Regions from separate parts of the Homo sapiens genome. Here regions 2 and 3 are each linked to region 1. Evidence: promoter capture Hi-C in 16 types of primary human blood cells and fetal thymus (Javierre and others, 2016). All regions are on one chromosome and are shown on one strand. Each heading gives the region's core, a stretch centred on a gene start or on the middle of the fragment in contact. The rest is flanking DNA. Distances are from core to core; before and after follow the strand shown. Region 1 holds the start of KCNJ10 (potassium inwardly rectifying channel subfamily J member 10). Region 2 has its middle 12 kb from the start of CADM3. Region 3 overlaps CADM3 (cell adhesion molecule 3).

Region 1 (5,099 bases), core at 923-3,422:
ACTTCCTTGTAGCTCAAGCCAACCAAGCTGGAGCTGTAAATGAGCTTATGCACAGTGATGCAGGTGGGAGGGAGCTAGAATGTGGTTCAATGGGGCACACGGAGGAGGTAGGGGATACCAGCGGGCAGATCATTAATCCCCTCACACAAACATATGCACCCATAGACTGGATGTGGGTCAGATGTTGGGGAAGATGGATTTATTTTTTCCTCAGGGTAAGGGATAGCAGAGGGGTTCTGCATTAGAGCCACAGAGGGGCTGGAACCATAACCCTGCTACCCCTGCCACTCCCACTCCCCACCCACCCTCCATCGGTGGAGTCATTGCCATTTGATATCCGCTGAGACAACTTGGCTGCTCAGGCTCTGAGTGGGGGGTGGGGGGATGGCTCAGAAAACAGCAGCTCCTTTCAGGACCCAGGTTGGCAAGGGCTTTGGGAGGCTGGACCAGCCCAGATCACCCCCCAACACCCTCTCCCTCCCTTCCTCCCTTGCCACCACCACCAAAGGACTGGGGGAAGGCAGCGGGGAAAGGAGTTGGCACTGCCTGGGCCGTGCCTATTGCCTCCACAATCCAGCCCTGGACCCTCTCCCTGGCATGATGCCTTCCATCCCCCTCCTCCCTCGTTTCTTCCTCCCTGAAGAACCAGCTATGAGTCAGGATGCCTGGTTCCTTCCAAACTTGGTCCCCTATACCCAGTCTACCCCCAGAGAAATTTACAAGCCCTACCACTTGGCACAGGATGGTACCCACCATCATGCCAGGAATATGTTCAAAAATCCTTGGAGATTAGGGAGAGAGTTTCAGGATGAAACTAAATTGAACTCACTGGTGGCTGCCCACCCCTCCTGGGGCTAATTTCATGACAACCACTCCAGGCCCTCCTCAGCACCCTTAAACAAGGCCATCTCTCACATGGGGGCCCTAAATCTCCTGTCATTATCTCCCTCCCACCCAGGCAGCCTAAAGCAGTCCCAGTGGGGAGAAAAAAAATTCAAACACCACAGCAAGAGCAGACTGGCCAGACATCTTTAGTCAGAATTTGTATTGGTAAGCAACAGAAGCAGGCTTTAAGCACTGGCCTCTTTGGGGTCCAAATCTGCACCAGCTTCTTCCCCATCTGCCTCACCCTGCCTGGGGCACTCACTGGAATTAAACTTCAAGACACCAGAACCCACCCTCACTTTTTCCCAGTGTTGTCCTTCTACCCATTCCTGGGTTCAGCTCTCCTCCCCCAAATCAGGAAGTTCCATCCTTCATCTGTTCCCTAACACAGGTGCCCTGGGTTAGTTCTGATGAGAGGAGGAATGGAATGGGAAGGGGCGTCTCCATCTGGAGGGTGAGTTTATAGAACCCAATCTGCCCTTCTCACTCTAGCAGAAGTGGCCCTGCTCCTTTCCTTCTGGAAATCCCAGTGCGAAACAGCTGGGGTGAGGGTGAGGGGCCATGAGGAGGGATGTCTTAAAATGGGAGCCACTCAGAATAGAAGGAAGAGATTGGGTGGGCAGGGGTCTGGAGCACACCAGGCTTTGGTGGCTCCCCGGTTTAAGCTGCCAGTATCTGTTTTTCTCCCCATGTGGGAACTAGCGATCATGGGTGTCACTATGTGATTGTCACTGTATGGGGAGTGGGGGAGGGGCTGGGGATGGGAGTAACCTGTCCATATGGGGAGGAGGGCGCACTGTCTGTTGTGCCTGTGTATGGGGTGCCTGGTTATGTGTGGTTGTCACTGTATTAACTAGAGGAGCAGGGATGCAACTGCTGGTCTGCCCAGTGGGAGGGGGCATCGGGAAAGCCCCTTCCTTAGATGAAAGGGCTGAGGTGACCAGCCTGGCTAGTTTCCTCGTGGGGAGCCCTTCCCAGGAGGCTCCATTTGGGACTGCCCAAGGCGGGAGGCAGGGGAACAAGACGGTGGTACCGCTGAGGCCAGGCAGGGTAGGGACTGAGGATCTGGGACCCCGATGTCTCTGGAGAGTTAGGGGGACAGGACCCGGCCGGGGCGGCAGAACTCCTTCATCAGGGCCAGGGTCTTACCTTGGGTCCGAGGTGGAGTGGCCCCTTGGATGGGCCGCGGGGCAGCGGGACAGATGGACGGACGGGGCGGGCAGGAGTTAGGAGCAGAGCTGTGCGACGGGCCGGGCCAGGACTCTTAAACCCGGAGCTGGGATCAGATAAGGGCTTGTCCGGGGGCCGGGGCCGGGGTCGGGCCGGCCGGGGGCAGAGCTGGGCCGGGCCGGGCCGCCCCCTCCCTCCGCAGCGCCGGAGCCAAACTTTGTGTGAATGGAGGGGCCCGGAGGGGGGCCGGGCAGGCGGGGGCGGGGGGCTCCGAACAGACCAATGGGAGAGTGGAGCGCCAGGCTCGAGCCGCCGAGATTGGAGGGTCTTGGGCAGGGGGCGGGGCGTGCGGGGCAAGGAAGCGGAGACCCAGACAGCTGCAGGCGCAGAGAGAAATATCCAAAGACAGAGACCCAGACAGACCCGGGGAGAAAGAGAGATGAAGAGACGATATGCGAAACGATAGGAGCTGAGCTGGCAGGGTGACAGGGGAAGGGAGAAGGAAGAAAAGGGAGGCGGTCCTGTCAGCGATGGGTTACGAGAGCTGGAGCCGGGGGGCGGGACTGGGACCGAGTTAACGAAGTGGAAATGAATTCAGGACCGGCCCAGTGGCCCTGCAGGCAGCGCCGAAGGCGGCGCCTGGAAGTGAGATTGGGGCGGAGTAGGCCTGGGCTCCCTGAGCCACAGGACTGTATCTTTGGGCACAATTCCCGTGTTGTTCACCGTCTCCTAAGTCCCCGGTGCGGTGCTGGGTGAGAGACGCGCAGCACACGGTGCCCACCTGCAGCGGCTTTCTCTGTAAGGAAAGATAAGGCCGGAACCCTCAGCGAAGTGCGGGAGGTACTGAAGGCTGTAAAAGGGAGAGGTCATTCTACTCAGAGGGCTCCTAGCAGATGTGGGAGGAAAGAGGTAACATCTGATTAGGGTCCCAAAGGAAGCAGAAGATTCAGGTGCTGAGAGATGGTCCCCAGGACTCTGTTGCATTTAAGGCAGAGGGAACAACGTAGCAGAGTCCTGGGGAGACGTGAAAATACAAGTTCACTTGGGAAACAGCATCAAACTGTCCCATTTACTAGATTAGAGTGCAGGGTGATGGTTCTCAACCCTTTCATCACCAAAGATTTCTTTAATTTTCTGAATCTATGTGTTGAGAGGTTTTAATTCACCCCCACCCCCAGCATTTATTTAAAAAGAATATAATTATTTCCTCATTTCTGATCATCATAAACATTTAACTGCTAATCAATAACCAGTGTTACCATATTGAATTGCTATAAATTCAGGTAAAAAAAGGAAAGAAACTAGGAATGTAGCTTAGTTTAACCACTAAAAGCCATAAGATAAGTAAATGTCCATTCAAATAGCCTCATTGGAGAAGCTGGAAGGACGGGACTAAAGGTTAGGCACCATAGGCAGTGTTTGTGTTAAGGGGAACATCCGGAAGAAACACAGAGTTGTGCTGATTTGTGGTCAGGCCAGAGTTTCTGTAGGCTACGGAGAGCAATTGAAGGTTCTTGGGAAGGATGGAGTAGGAGAAAGCTATGGCATTTTAGGAAAATTAATCGGGAGGTGACAAAATAGTTTGAACCAAGTGGATATAGTAGGCAAGTAGACGATAGAAAATAATTGCAATAATATAAGCATGAAGAGATGACAGCCCAAATCAGCGTGGCAATGGTGAAAAGTGGAACACAGAAAATGAATTGGAGTACAGAAAAATCAAAAGAAAATGAAAAAAGTTTGAAGCCAACTTGACATGTTGAGCAAAAGAGGGAAGCTTCAGAGATCATACTAGAGTCTCAAGTCAGGTGATCAGAACTGCGAGGTCATTCACGGGCATAGGGGAGCCTGGGGGGGATCACACCTGGTGAGGAGACTGAGGTGGGGGAAGAGGAAGTGATGAGTTCAGAGCTGGAAGCTGTGGAGAGGGGTCAGAACCAGAGAGAGAAAGGAGGTCATTGCTGCCAGGGCAGTGTGAGTTGAAGCTATGAGAACAGGGTAGATCCCAACAAAGACTGCACAGAGAAATGAGAGCCTGGCACAGAGAGTGAGGAACACCTATGTTTAGGGGATGGGAAGAAGAAGGACCCCCAAAGAGTGAAAGAGAATCCACCAGACAGGCAGGAAGGAGACAAAGAAAGTGAGATGTCATGGAGCTAAGGAAGGAGAGACTGTTAAGGAGGAGGTTCTAACAGTGCCAACAAGTACAGAGAGAAGAGGCATTGGGTTTGGCAGTGACAAAGTCTCTAGTGACATTTGAGAGCAATTTCAGAAGAGTGAGCAAGGTGGGAACCAGATTACAAGTTACCACTAGAAAGTGAGAAACTGTCAGCAAGTATAGGTTACACTTTTGAGAACTCTACTCATAGAGAGGAGAGAAATAGAAACCAGACAATGTACTAGAAACAGGCCAGGCCAGGTGGCTCATGCCTGTAATCCCAGCACTTTGGGAGGCCAAGGTGGGTGGATCACCTGAGGTCAGGAGTTTGAGACCAGCCTGGCCAACATGGCAAAAACCCATCTCTACTAAAAATACAAAAATTAGCCGGGCCTGGTGGCACGCGCCTGTAATCCCAGCTACTTGGGAGACTGAGGCATGTGAATCGCTTGAACCTGGGAGGCAGAGGTTGCAGTGAGCCGAGATCACGCCACTGCACTCCAGCCTGGGGGACAGAGCTAGACTCTGTCTCCAAAAACAAAACAAAACAAAACACAAAATAAAAAGAAAAAGAAACAGTCTTCCAGTTTTTCTTCTTCACACTCCGAATGCCCTCTCTTCCTAAGTCAATATGGATGAGGGGCTGTGGTGAGGTGGTCTGAGGGCCAGCCTGCAAGACTGGTATAAGACCTTTAAGTTTCAAAAAATAGGACATCCAAAAGATCCTTAAGGGGGCCACAGTCTTGACATTCACAGACAGAGAGGACTTAGGCAGGGGTGTCCAATTTTTTGGTTTCCCTGGGCCACATTGGAAGAAGAAGAATTGTCTTGGGCCACACATAAAATACACTAACACTAACAGTAGCTGATGAGCTTTAAAAAAAAA
Region 2 (5,099 bases), core at 703-3,202, 910 kb before region 1:
CACACCCATCTTCACACCATTACTGCACCCTGTGCATATGGCTATCGGAGGACTGAGCACTCTGTAACGTACTCAATTTTGTGAATCTCTGTTCCTACCAGAGAGAGAGAAACTTGAGTTTTTTTACCCTTGATAGTCTGGGCAGTGCCTGGCACATGGTAGTTGTTCAATGTATGTTTACCAAAGAAAAAGAATCAACAATCAAAACCACTAGAACAGGTCTTTGTCCTCCTAGACACATATCATCCTATAATACCACAGTTCTTGATTTTTGTAATGCAAGTATTAGATGGGAACTCTTAAAATGACACTGAGAACTTTAGGCTTCTTCTGCTGGTCTACTTCAAAGTGGTAGAACGTTCAACTTTCTCCAGAGCTCCAGTTTTCATATCCAGTCTATTCAATATTTCCTACTTGATGGGTTGCCCTCAGCTTAAACTCAATGTAATCTAACAAAATTGTTACAAATTGATTATGTCTCCTGCAAATTTAGATGTTAACACTCTAATCCCTCATGTATTTAGATGTGAGTCCTATGAGAGGTGATTTGGTCATGAAGGTGGAACTCTAATAAATGGAATTAGTGTCATTATAAGAAGAGACACAGGGAGACAATCTCTTTTTCCACCATGTGAAGACACATTGAGAAGGTGGCTGTCTGCAAACCACGAAGAGGACACTCAACAGGAATCAAATCCACCAGTACCTTGATCTTGGACTTCCCAGCCTCCAGAACTGTGAGAAACCAAAGTCTGTTGTTTAAGCCACATAGTTTATGGTATTCTGTTTTAGCAGCCTCAAGTAAGACACTAATCCTCCTTCATTCCAAAATACTAAACCCCACAAAAAGCTTCTCCTAATTCCACTATTTCTTTTCATGGTTCAGCATTTTCCAAGTCACTCAAAAGCCAAAACTGAGAGCTGCCTCAGCCTTCTCCCTCTGTCTTGCTTCCCATAACCAACACCAAACGTAGCACCTCTTTTCCATTCCCAATTCCACTGCCCTTGCTCAGGACTCTTTTACTTTGTTCCTGGATTTCTATAATCATCTTTTAACTCATATTCTTAGAATAAGCATTTAATTTAAAAAAAATTAATCATTCAATACATAGGCACACATTATAAAAATATGAAGTATATAATATGGACAATTATAGTCCCCCTTATGACTTAAGTCTCACTCCTGGCCCAGAAAATAATTTTCCAAGTTTAATATGCATCTGAACAATAGAAACACTCAAGTGCCTACTATGTGCCAGGCGCTATTTAAAGCAATTTAAATAGATTAATTTATTTAATTTTCACATCATACCACCCTAGGGGTCATGTAAAATTATCTCTATTTTCCACACAATGAAAAAAAATGCTGAGGCGGTTAAGTATCTTGCCTGAAGTCACACAGCCAGTAAGTAACTATTCATTTACTTAAACACATATTTATATGCATATAAGATTTTACATACACATATGTATATGTTTTATGCTTTTTTCCCATTTTACACAAAAGGGATAGCAGTATGTGTATTTTCTTTGTATTTTCACTGAACAACATACCTTCTGTATCTTTCTATGTTGGTAGATATAAATTTACCTCATTCTTTTTAACTGCAATGTGTTATTACAAAGTATGATATAGCATAATCTATTTATCCAATTCACTATTGATGAATATTTATGTTGTCTTCAATTTTTCACTACTGGAAAAAAATGATGTGATGCATATCTCTGCACATAAATCAGAGCACTCATGTGTGAACAGATCTATAGCATAATTTGTAGAAATAGCACTGCTGGTATTTCTATTTTTAATTCTGATGCATTCTGCCAAAATATCTCCAAAAAGGCTGTGCCAATTTACATCCTCCCTAACAATATATAAAGGTGCCTATTTCCCTAAGCACTTGCCAACACTGAGTATTATCCATCATTTTAATTTTTTAACAATCTGATGGGTTCTTTGATGCTTTTTAACAGTCTAGGATCTCTTTGGTGCTATAACTTGTATTTCTCAAAATCCAAATGCCGTTGATCATCTTTTCAAATGTTTATTAGACAACTGTATTTTTTTTCTGAGAATTCATACTCATATCCTTTGCCCAATTTTCTCTTGGACTGTTTGTCTTTTTTATGTTTATTTGCTGACTATTTTGCATGTTAGCAATTTTGATACTTTGGCATATATATTGCAAATAAAATCTTCCCAGTCTGTGACTTACTTTTACATTTTGTCTATGGGTCTGCAATTATATCAGTTTTAAAAATTATGCAGTAAATCTTATCGGTCCTTTCCTTTATCGACTCTAGGTGTTGTGTCTTGCTTAGGAAGGTCTTTCCCACTCTAAGATTAAGTATATTTTTCGACAGTTTTTGCAAACATTTTTAGTGTTGTTTGGTTTATAAAATTTAGCACAAGTCCACCTGAAATATATTGTCGTATATGGCATAAGGAAAGGCTAAACCTATCCCATACCAACTGACAAACAGATAACCAATTATTCTAATGTCTTTAAACAGTACAACCCTCTAGTCACTGATTAGAAGTGTAGTATATAATGAAGGTAGCACTCTTCATACACTAAATTTCCAAGTTGGTTTGTAACTACACTCTCTCTTCTGCTCCATGGTTCTATTTATGTATTCCTGTGCCAAGATTTCATGTTTTAATTGCTATAATTTTAAAGTTGCTTAGGATAGCTAGAAAATCATCCTCCCCCTTAGCCCCATGTGTTTAAAAAATTATGGCTATTTACTCTTGACTTTATCTTCCAAGGGAATGTTAGAATAGGCTAGTCAAGTTCCATAAAATATCTTATTGGAATTTAGCATAGTATTGCATCAAATTTATAAATTAAAAATTACCATCTTTACCACAATGAATCTTAGAATTAATATTTAAATACCAATTCAACAACATAACGTCCTGCTACAATTTTTTTTCCAACTGACATTGGGATAAAGATAAAGCTCTTCAGTGTCTAGTTTTCAAATCCCACCTCCCAAATTTGGTTTAAACTAGCCATCTCATCAAATTGATTTCCCTTATTTTTCATCCACAAAGCTTTTCAAACCAGTATACTGATTCTATCCTAAATAATCCTTCATTCCCTGTGCTAGAGATGCCATGCAATTAGGAAAGGGATAAAGCAGTTATATTCTTTGTCTACACATCCTCACTTTGAAGTGCTAACATTCTGGGTCTATCCAAGATCCATCATTACCCTTTAACAAGGCAAGAATAGGTATACTTTTCCTTATTAACTTAAACAGATTTGAGTTTGCAGGGGGAAAAATAGAGCTTTTTATGATTAAATAATCTACGACAATACAGTCATCCCTCAGTATCTGCTGGGGATTGGCTGCAGGACGCCCACACCCTTGCCACAGGATACCAAAATCTGCACATACTCAAGATCTACAATTGACCCTGTGAAAACAGCGGAACCAGCAGAACCAGGAAACTGGCATATAGAAAAAGTCTGCCCTCCCTATCTGCAGTTTGCCCATCCGGAGAATATTGTTTGGTTGCAGATATGGAGCCTGGAGATACAGAGGGCAAACTGTATTTATTGAAAAAAAAATCCATGTATAAGTGGATCCACACAGTTCAAATCCATGTTGTTCAAGGGTCAACTTGTTTTTTCGTCATTCATGGGAAAGAGAACTTGGTGTTGAGCAAGGAAACAGATAATGTGATCTGAAGCTTGAGGAGACCTCACTGGGTCCAAACTCTCAACATGCAGGAAAGAATTCATGCAGTCTTTGACAGATCGGTAAATATTAAAAAGAAGTGAGAAAAGGTTAGAAGAACTGAGATAACACTACCTGAGAAGAGAAGACTAAAATTAAACTGAAAAATGTTTCAAGTGTGTGTTAAAACTTGGAGGAGGTGGGAGTTGGGTCTGCCAAGAAGTCTGGGAGAGGCTGCATTACAGCAAAGTCACCACACTGAGGGAGCAGAGGATCAGGAATGACAAAGGGTCAGGGTGGCCACACGAGGGTAGCAGAGAGCAGGTTAACAGAGAGACCTTGGCGAAAGTGAAAAAAGTTATTGGAACTGAAAATCTAGATCCAAGCAGTGCTTTATACTCGGACAGTGAACACAGGGCAAGATTCTATGGTACACTCAGAGAAACAGAGGAACATCTCCCTGCTCTAGGGTGAAGAGGTCACAGAGAAAGGTAACTAACAAACATGTATTGGGTTCTATGCTAGGAGTTTTACATAAATGTCCTCATTTAATAATCTTTATAAGCCTACAAGATAGACAATAACAATGTCTGATGTTTAACACATGAAAAGACTGATCTCAAATGACATAAGTGGCACAGCTGGTATTTAAGCCCAGATGAGTCCACTTTCTAAATCCAGGCTTTCTCACTCTCCTGCACTCTTCTGCCTTTCCAATGAGTCAGAAGTGTCTCCTTGGAGCTGGGCCCAGAACCTGGTTAACTTTCTCAAAGCAGCACACACAGTCGTTCCTAGGCCTTCACAGTCCACATGAAAAAAAGCTATGGCCTTTTGTGAACATGGTGAGAACACCAAATGTATCTGCATCCATTCTTGGCTTAGCCACAAGGAATAGCAGCAGCAGTCATCAGCCTGACAGGTATGGGCACACAGGCACAGCGGTCCACAAGGAAGCCCTGGGACTGGAAACTGGTGGCAAACCTCAACAGATGTCACCTTGCTAGGGCATACTACTTTCAGTAATAGCAAGCTCTGGGATTTTAGGGTTTAAAAAGATTTTAAGACCAAAATGCACCACAAGAAACAGATTAAAAATAATCTGAAAAGAAACAGGTTAAAAATAAAGAACAGTAAAAAACATACAAGAGGGCATGGAATAGCATATCATAGCTTATCATGTTCAACTCATGACCATCAGCCATAGCCTCACTCACCTACTGGACCTGTCCTGAACAAAACTATTTAAGTGAAAAGGATCAGAGAAAAAGTACTAAAATGATAAAAGAAATGGCAGAAGGTTAAGAATTAGGACATTTCACCTAATGTAGAGGAGGTTAAGGGGCAATTTAATAACAGTCTTAAATCCTCTAGAGGGACATTATATAGAGGCTCATAAAAAGAAAGAGATATCT
Region 3 (5,099 bases), core at 1,692-4,191, 890 kb before region 1:
GTATCTCAGGACACACTGATGCATGAGACATAACCACCATATCTTCTGTCTTAAATTAATTCTATCTTTTAGTTTCTGGATCTAAGAAGGCCAGTGCTGATGGTGGGAGGTAAATGCATAGATTTAATGCTCACGGACAGTAATCCTGAAGACTATTTTGCACACAATCATGGACATGTGTTTCGTACCCCTGAGTTGGCCTGGGGCCCCTAGGAAGAGAACTAGGCAATATGTATATGTATCTTAACTGGTAATGTTTGACCAAAACTATGAGAGATGTGGTGGGAAGGTTTAAGGACAAGATACTCTTATGGTGATGTTTGAATTGTCAAGGGTGTTGTGGTAGCATACCTATTCCCATTTAAAATAAGGAAAACAAACTTAATGTGCTGCTGGGGCATATCATTCCCTGGAGCACAGCATAAATTTTTTAAGCTTCATAAGGCTGAACAGGGATTGAGAGGGCAAGCAGCTGATAACTAAGACTGGCCATGAGTGTTGTGGCTAGAAGTTCAGGAACAGGTAAGACATTTAGAATGTCCCATCTGCCCTTCCTTCTCACATTTCCCCACTAGTTTTCACAGTGGTTGACAATTCTGGGTTTGGAGGACATAAGTCCTGTGAACTTAATGTGTCCTCTCTCTGGTGAGCAGCTCAATATTCAACACTGTGACCAGCTTTCTTGGGCTCTTCCTTCTGAAGTTATTTCCAGCACTCTGTGACTTGGCCTAGGGTAAAGATAGATAGACGGATAGCCTCTCTTTGTTTCAGATAAGGTTATAGCAATTTAACCTTGTACTGCACTGCCCCACACATGAACATCTATTTCTTCTCAATGACCTCTGTCCACTACCATTCATTCTACAGCCCCCTGGCCAGATGCCCAGTGAGGACATCATGCCCAATGTGCCACAGAAGTCCAGCAGGCATTCACTCTAGTGCTGTCCACAGATCTGTTTGGCAGATCAACTCCATCCAGTTTCTGTTCCTAGTTGCAGCTGTAACTGTTCTGTTGCTGTTCCTGTTCTCCTCCTAGTTGCAGCTGTAACTCTTGGGAAGGATATGCTCTCCTTTTAGACATGTGCATTTTCTGGCACAGAAAAGTTAAGACCATCACAGAGACACTTGCATAGCAGAGTTTAGTTAATTCCATGAAGAATCAGTGTGTTTCATGTAGGTCCTAATGTATGTAACGTCAACTGCCTACCCAGCAGTTATGCCATTCTATTCTAAGCTTCTCCATAGATCTGGATAGCACTGTTAGTTTTAATAGTTTCCTCTAGGGCAGCAGTTTTCTCATTTGTTTTTAAAACAAAGATGTGAGACATTTTTAACAAATGAGGAAAACATATCAAAGGAGAATGCTGTTGTTGAAATGGTGAAGTAAGACCTATATCCCTTTTCCCTGTCTTACTGGCTTTTACACATTCTTATAATCCTTAAGGAACTACCTGGGGTTCTACCACACAGTTCAAAATCCTCTGTCCTAGACTGATAGAATGAGCCAGCTTACTACCCTTAGGCTCTTTCTCTTTCCTCTTCCAACTGAAGAAGAAAGAAGGTCCAAATCTAATTGCAAGAGTGCCTTGTTGGAGATATTCACTATTCACTTGGAGAGAGTGACTCATAGTTCTGCAGCCATAAAATTCCAGAGACAGCATCGCTTTGGCGTTCTGGTTACTTTGAAATAACAAACTGAGAGGTTGTGCCATTGCTCTGTAAATTCTTAGATTTGATTTTGGTACTTCTTGATGTTACTACTTTCTTGCAGTCCAAATAATATGTAAAACAGGATCAAAAGTTTATTTTCCTTAAATCACTTGGTAGGAAAAAATATCACCAGAGAAAGAAAACCCCTGGGGCTGTGACTAGTCTTATTCTTTGTTGTTTCCTACTCCAGTGGAACTGCATACTGGCTCAACAATCCCTTTTTTGTCATCTAATTCTCAGTAATGGAATTTTACCTAAGGATGGTGATCTAGGTTCCAGATTCTTGTTGAAAGCAAGCTGTGGATTGGACCAGCTACTTACTGACTACTGAGTGAAAAATTCAAAGTTATTATAAAGTTTTGGTAATTATATTTTCTTTTATTTTTCATGTTAGAATGTAATGTTTCATGTTTAACACTGACTATAGGCCCATGTACTAGAACATTTTGTTTCCTGTATGGGGTCTTGTTTTAGAGGTCCACCCTTAATCTCTGAGAATAGCAATCCCCATGGAAATGCTTACAAAAGACAGAGAGAAACAAACCATCAGAAAAGGACCCTGGAGAAGCAAGCCATCAGAAAAAGATTCTGTTTCTAAGAACTTGCTCCGATTAAGTATAAATACTTCAGGTCATCATAAAATGAAGAAGAACAAGTTTCCAGGGCTAGAGACCTGTTTCTGCCTCTGGGATCAGCAGTAGTGATGATTTTTTACAAGGTCAGAACCAGCTGGTGCCCAGGGCTCCAATAACTACCCAAGTAAAAACCCAGTCCAATTCTGTTATATATGACAAGAAGATCCATCCCTTCTAGTACAGAGAAGTCGAGCTCTCAAGAGGCTTGAACGCATGAATCTGTTGAGATTTTTACACAATAGAAGCTAAGATGCTAAGAAGTAAAGGTACATATTCTTCACTGAAGCAGCAACTACTAAAGAATCATTTCTTTCTTTACCAAAATTTTCCTAAGCCTTAAGGCCGTCATCAAATTCCTCAACTAACAGAGAAACTTCTAAATCCTGAGAACAATACTCTTCTTAAGAGGCATGATTCCATACCTCTCTTCTAGTGTGATTGTCTGAACTACTTACAGCAATTTTGGATACATTGGGACATTCTGAGTCTGATACGTCTCATACCCTACCTGACGAAAATACATATTTTGACTTTCTTGCATCCTACTGTCTCTGAGGGGGCACAGGCTCTCTGTTCCCTCTTTAGAAGATAGGCCTAATTTTACTCACGGTAAGTTGTAGCACATTAAAAGCCCCTCCATCACCACTAATATCTAGGTATTTAACATAATCACAGAAGATCATGTTGACAAACTGAGTCTGGTGGTGGTCCTCATTTTTCAGCACAGTCTCTTGACTGTGTATCAACCAGACAGGTTCAAATAAAGCACTTCAGGAGGCCTTATAGAGCAAGTGATGAGCGTAGAGTGATCCTAATAGAAGCCATGATGTCTGTTCTTTTAGTTCCTGTGCTTGAGAGCTGGCTGCCTTACCCCGTGATCCCAGTTCCCCTGTTCTTTATGGAGCAAACTATTATACCTGTGCTTTGAGCTCTCCATGGTGCTAGCCCCTGACAGTGACACTCCAGGCTTTTCTTGTTGCTCTCCATGGTCCTGTTTTACCTCCAAGTTTCATAATCTCCTTATTCTCCACAGTGCAGTCCCCAGAACAGGGCTGAAATCTCCCTCCCTGCCACCACAAACACACAGGTTCTTGGTTATGCTCCCCGACCTGTTCCACCACAAACACATGACAAAACTCTGAGATATAGATCTAGAAAGTCCTCACAGCCATCTGATCAACTGCAGAAAGGGAACAGAAGGGCAAGCAATTCTTAGGTTAAAAAAGAAGTGCTAGAAGGTTTTTGTAAGATGCTCAGGAAATTGTGGCCTACAGTGACCTCAAATGGCCTCAAAAGAACTGAATGTTTTGTCATATCTGGATTCATAGATTAAAAATACAACTATATATAGTTCTGTTTTAGATTGAGATAGTATTGCTCTTATATGATAACAATATACAGTTGTACTTTGGTATCCATGAAGGATTGGTTCCAGGACCTCCCACAGATACTAAAATCTGCAGATGCACAAGTCCTTGATATCAAATGGAGTGGCATTTGCATATAACCTATGCACATTCTCCTGTATACTTCGTTATCTCTAGATTACTTATAATACCATATACAATCTAAATGCTATGTAAATAGTTGTTTTACTGTATTGTTTAGGCAATAACGACAGGGGAAAATGTCTATACAAGTTTAGTACTGGCACAGCTTTTAAAAATATTTTCAATCTGCAATTGATTGAATCTATGGAGGTGGAACCCATGTATATGCAGGATTGACTGTATACACTATAAGTGTGGAATGTAAAATGAATCCTACCCAGTTTATAAACATGTACCTCTTAATAGCACTCTGAGCATGACAACCAACTCTAACTTTCCTGTCATGGTGCTTTTTTACCCTTTTCCCTCAACCTTAGCAAAGACAATACATAACAATGGGTTATCAGAATAGATAATGGAGGAATCCAGTAAATGAGAGGCATAGAAAGCAAGTATCAAGTGTACATCCATACCGTCCTGAACGCACCGGCTCTTGTCTGATCTCGGAAGCTAAGCAGGGTTAGGCCTGGTTAGTACATGTATAGGAGAAAACAAATATCAAAATCTTGACTTAACTTCCCCACCTTTATAACCACCTTGTACAAAACTAAATGGCTTTAAATATAACCATCTTCTCCCAGAGCACAGGTCCTTGGCCATATCTCAGTAGATGCATCTTTAAACTCTACTCTGCTATGCTTTAAGGGTACCTTCCAATAAGCTGATGATATCAAACGGCGTAGGGAGCTGAGAGTGCTCAGCCCGTCAGTCTTAGATTAGCCAGCCTGTTCTTCACATCGCATCAGAACTACACAAGCTTCTCATCCCCTAAATGCTGATTTTCCCATGTCAATTTATGGATAAGAGTTAATATAATAGTTAATACTTATGAGTGACCTACAGCAGAGTCTAGTTGGAGAGGCAGGCTTCCAGGATGAATTTCCAGGACTCCTCTTTCATTTCTTCATTTGAAACAAGGAGAAACTTCATTCCTCAAGGACAGGTAATGAGAGTGATTTATCTCTATGAGCGAGGCTTCAGCAAGACAGAATTAGGGTTATAGTAACAGCTGGAGTGTCTCCCATCTACTCATCTTCCTAAGCCCCCTGTTCTCATGAAGAGCAGGCAGGTTTCAGAAAGGACTCAAATACAGAAATCTCAACATATTTTTCAGCACATATATCATTCTTTAATGTGAACTCTTACCCCTGGGATTCTTCAAGATTCTCTTCTCTCTCTCTCTTTCTCTTGGAAGTCTCCAAGA

Evidence for each region. Contacts are between HindIII fragments. The CHiCAGO score rates a contact against its expected background, and 5 or more counts as called.
Region 2: a contact is called between a fragment that was not itself captured here and the fragment with the promoter of KCNJ10 in region 1, in 1 of 17 cell types (endothelial precursors). The highest score is 5.1, in endothelial precursors.
Region 3: a fragment that was not itself captured here is called in contact with the fragment with the promoter of KCNJ10 in region 1 in 1 of 17 cell types (neutrophils); the score reaches 5.0 in neutrophils.

The regions. Positions count from the first base shown.
Region 1 is chr1:160,067,988-160,073,086 of GRCh38, forward strand. KCNJ10 (potassium inwardly rectifying channel subfamily J member 10) reads right to left here and starts at 2,173. Exons shown (of 2, transcript NM_002241.5): 1 at 2,035-2,173. RefSeq lists enhancers at 1,555-1,724, 3,902-4,261, a cis regulatory region at 1,640 and a silencer at 2,135-2,364. The HindIII fragment of the contact is 4,127 bases long and covers 1-3,830 here.
Region 2 is chr1:159,157,214-159,162,312 of GRCh38, forward strand. No RefSeq gene overlaps it. Among named protein-coding and RNA genes, the nearest start is that of CADM3, 12 kb to the right of the region's middle. The HindIII fragment of the contact is 2,208 bases long and covers 849-3,056 here.
Region 3 is chr1:159,174,179-159,179,277 of GRCh38, forward strand. The region is part of intron 1 of CADM3 (cell adhesion molecule 3); the gene reads left to right. It also overlaps the pseudogene RNA5SP60. Among named protein-coding and RNA genes, the nearest start is that of CADM3, 5.1 kb to the left of the region's middle. The HindIII fragment of the contact is 3,418 bases long and covers 1,233-4,650 here.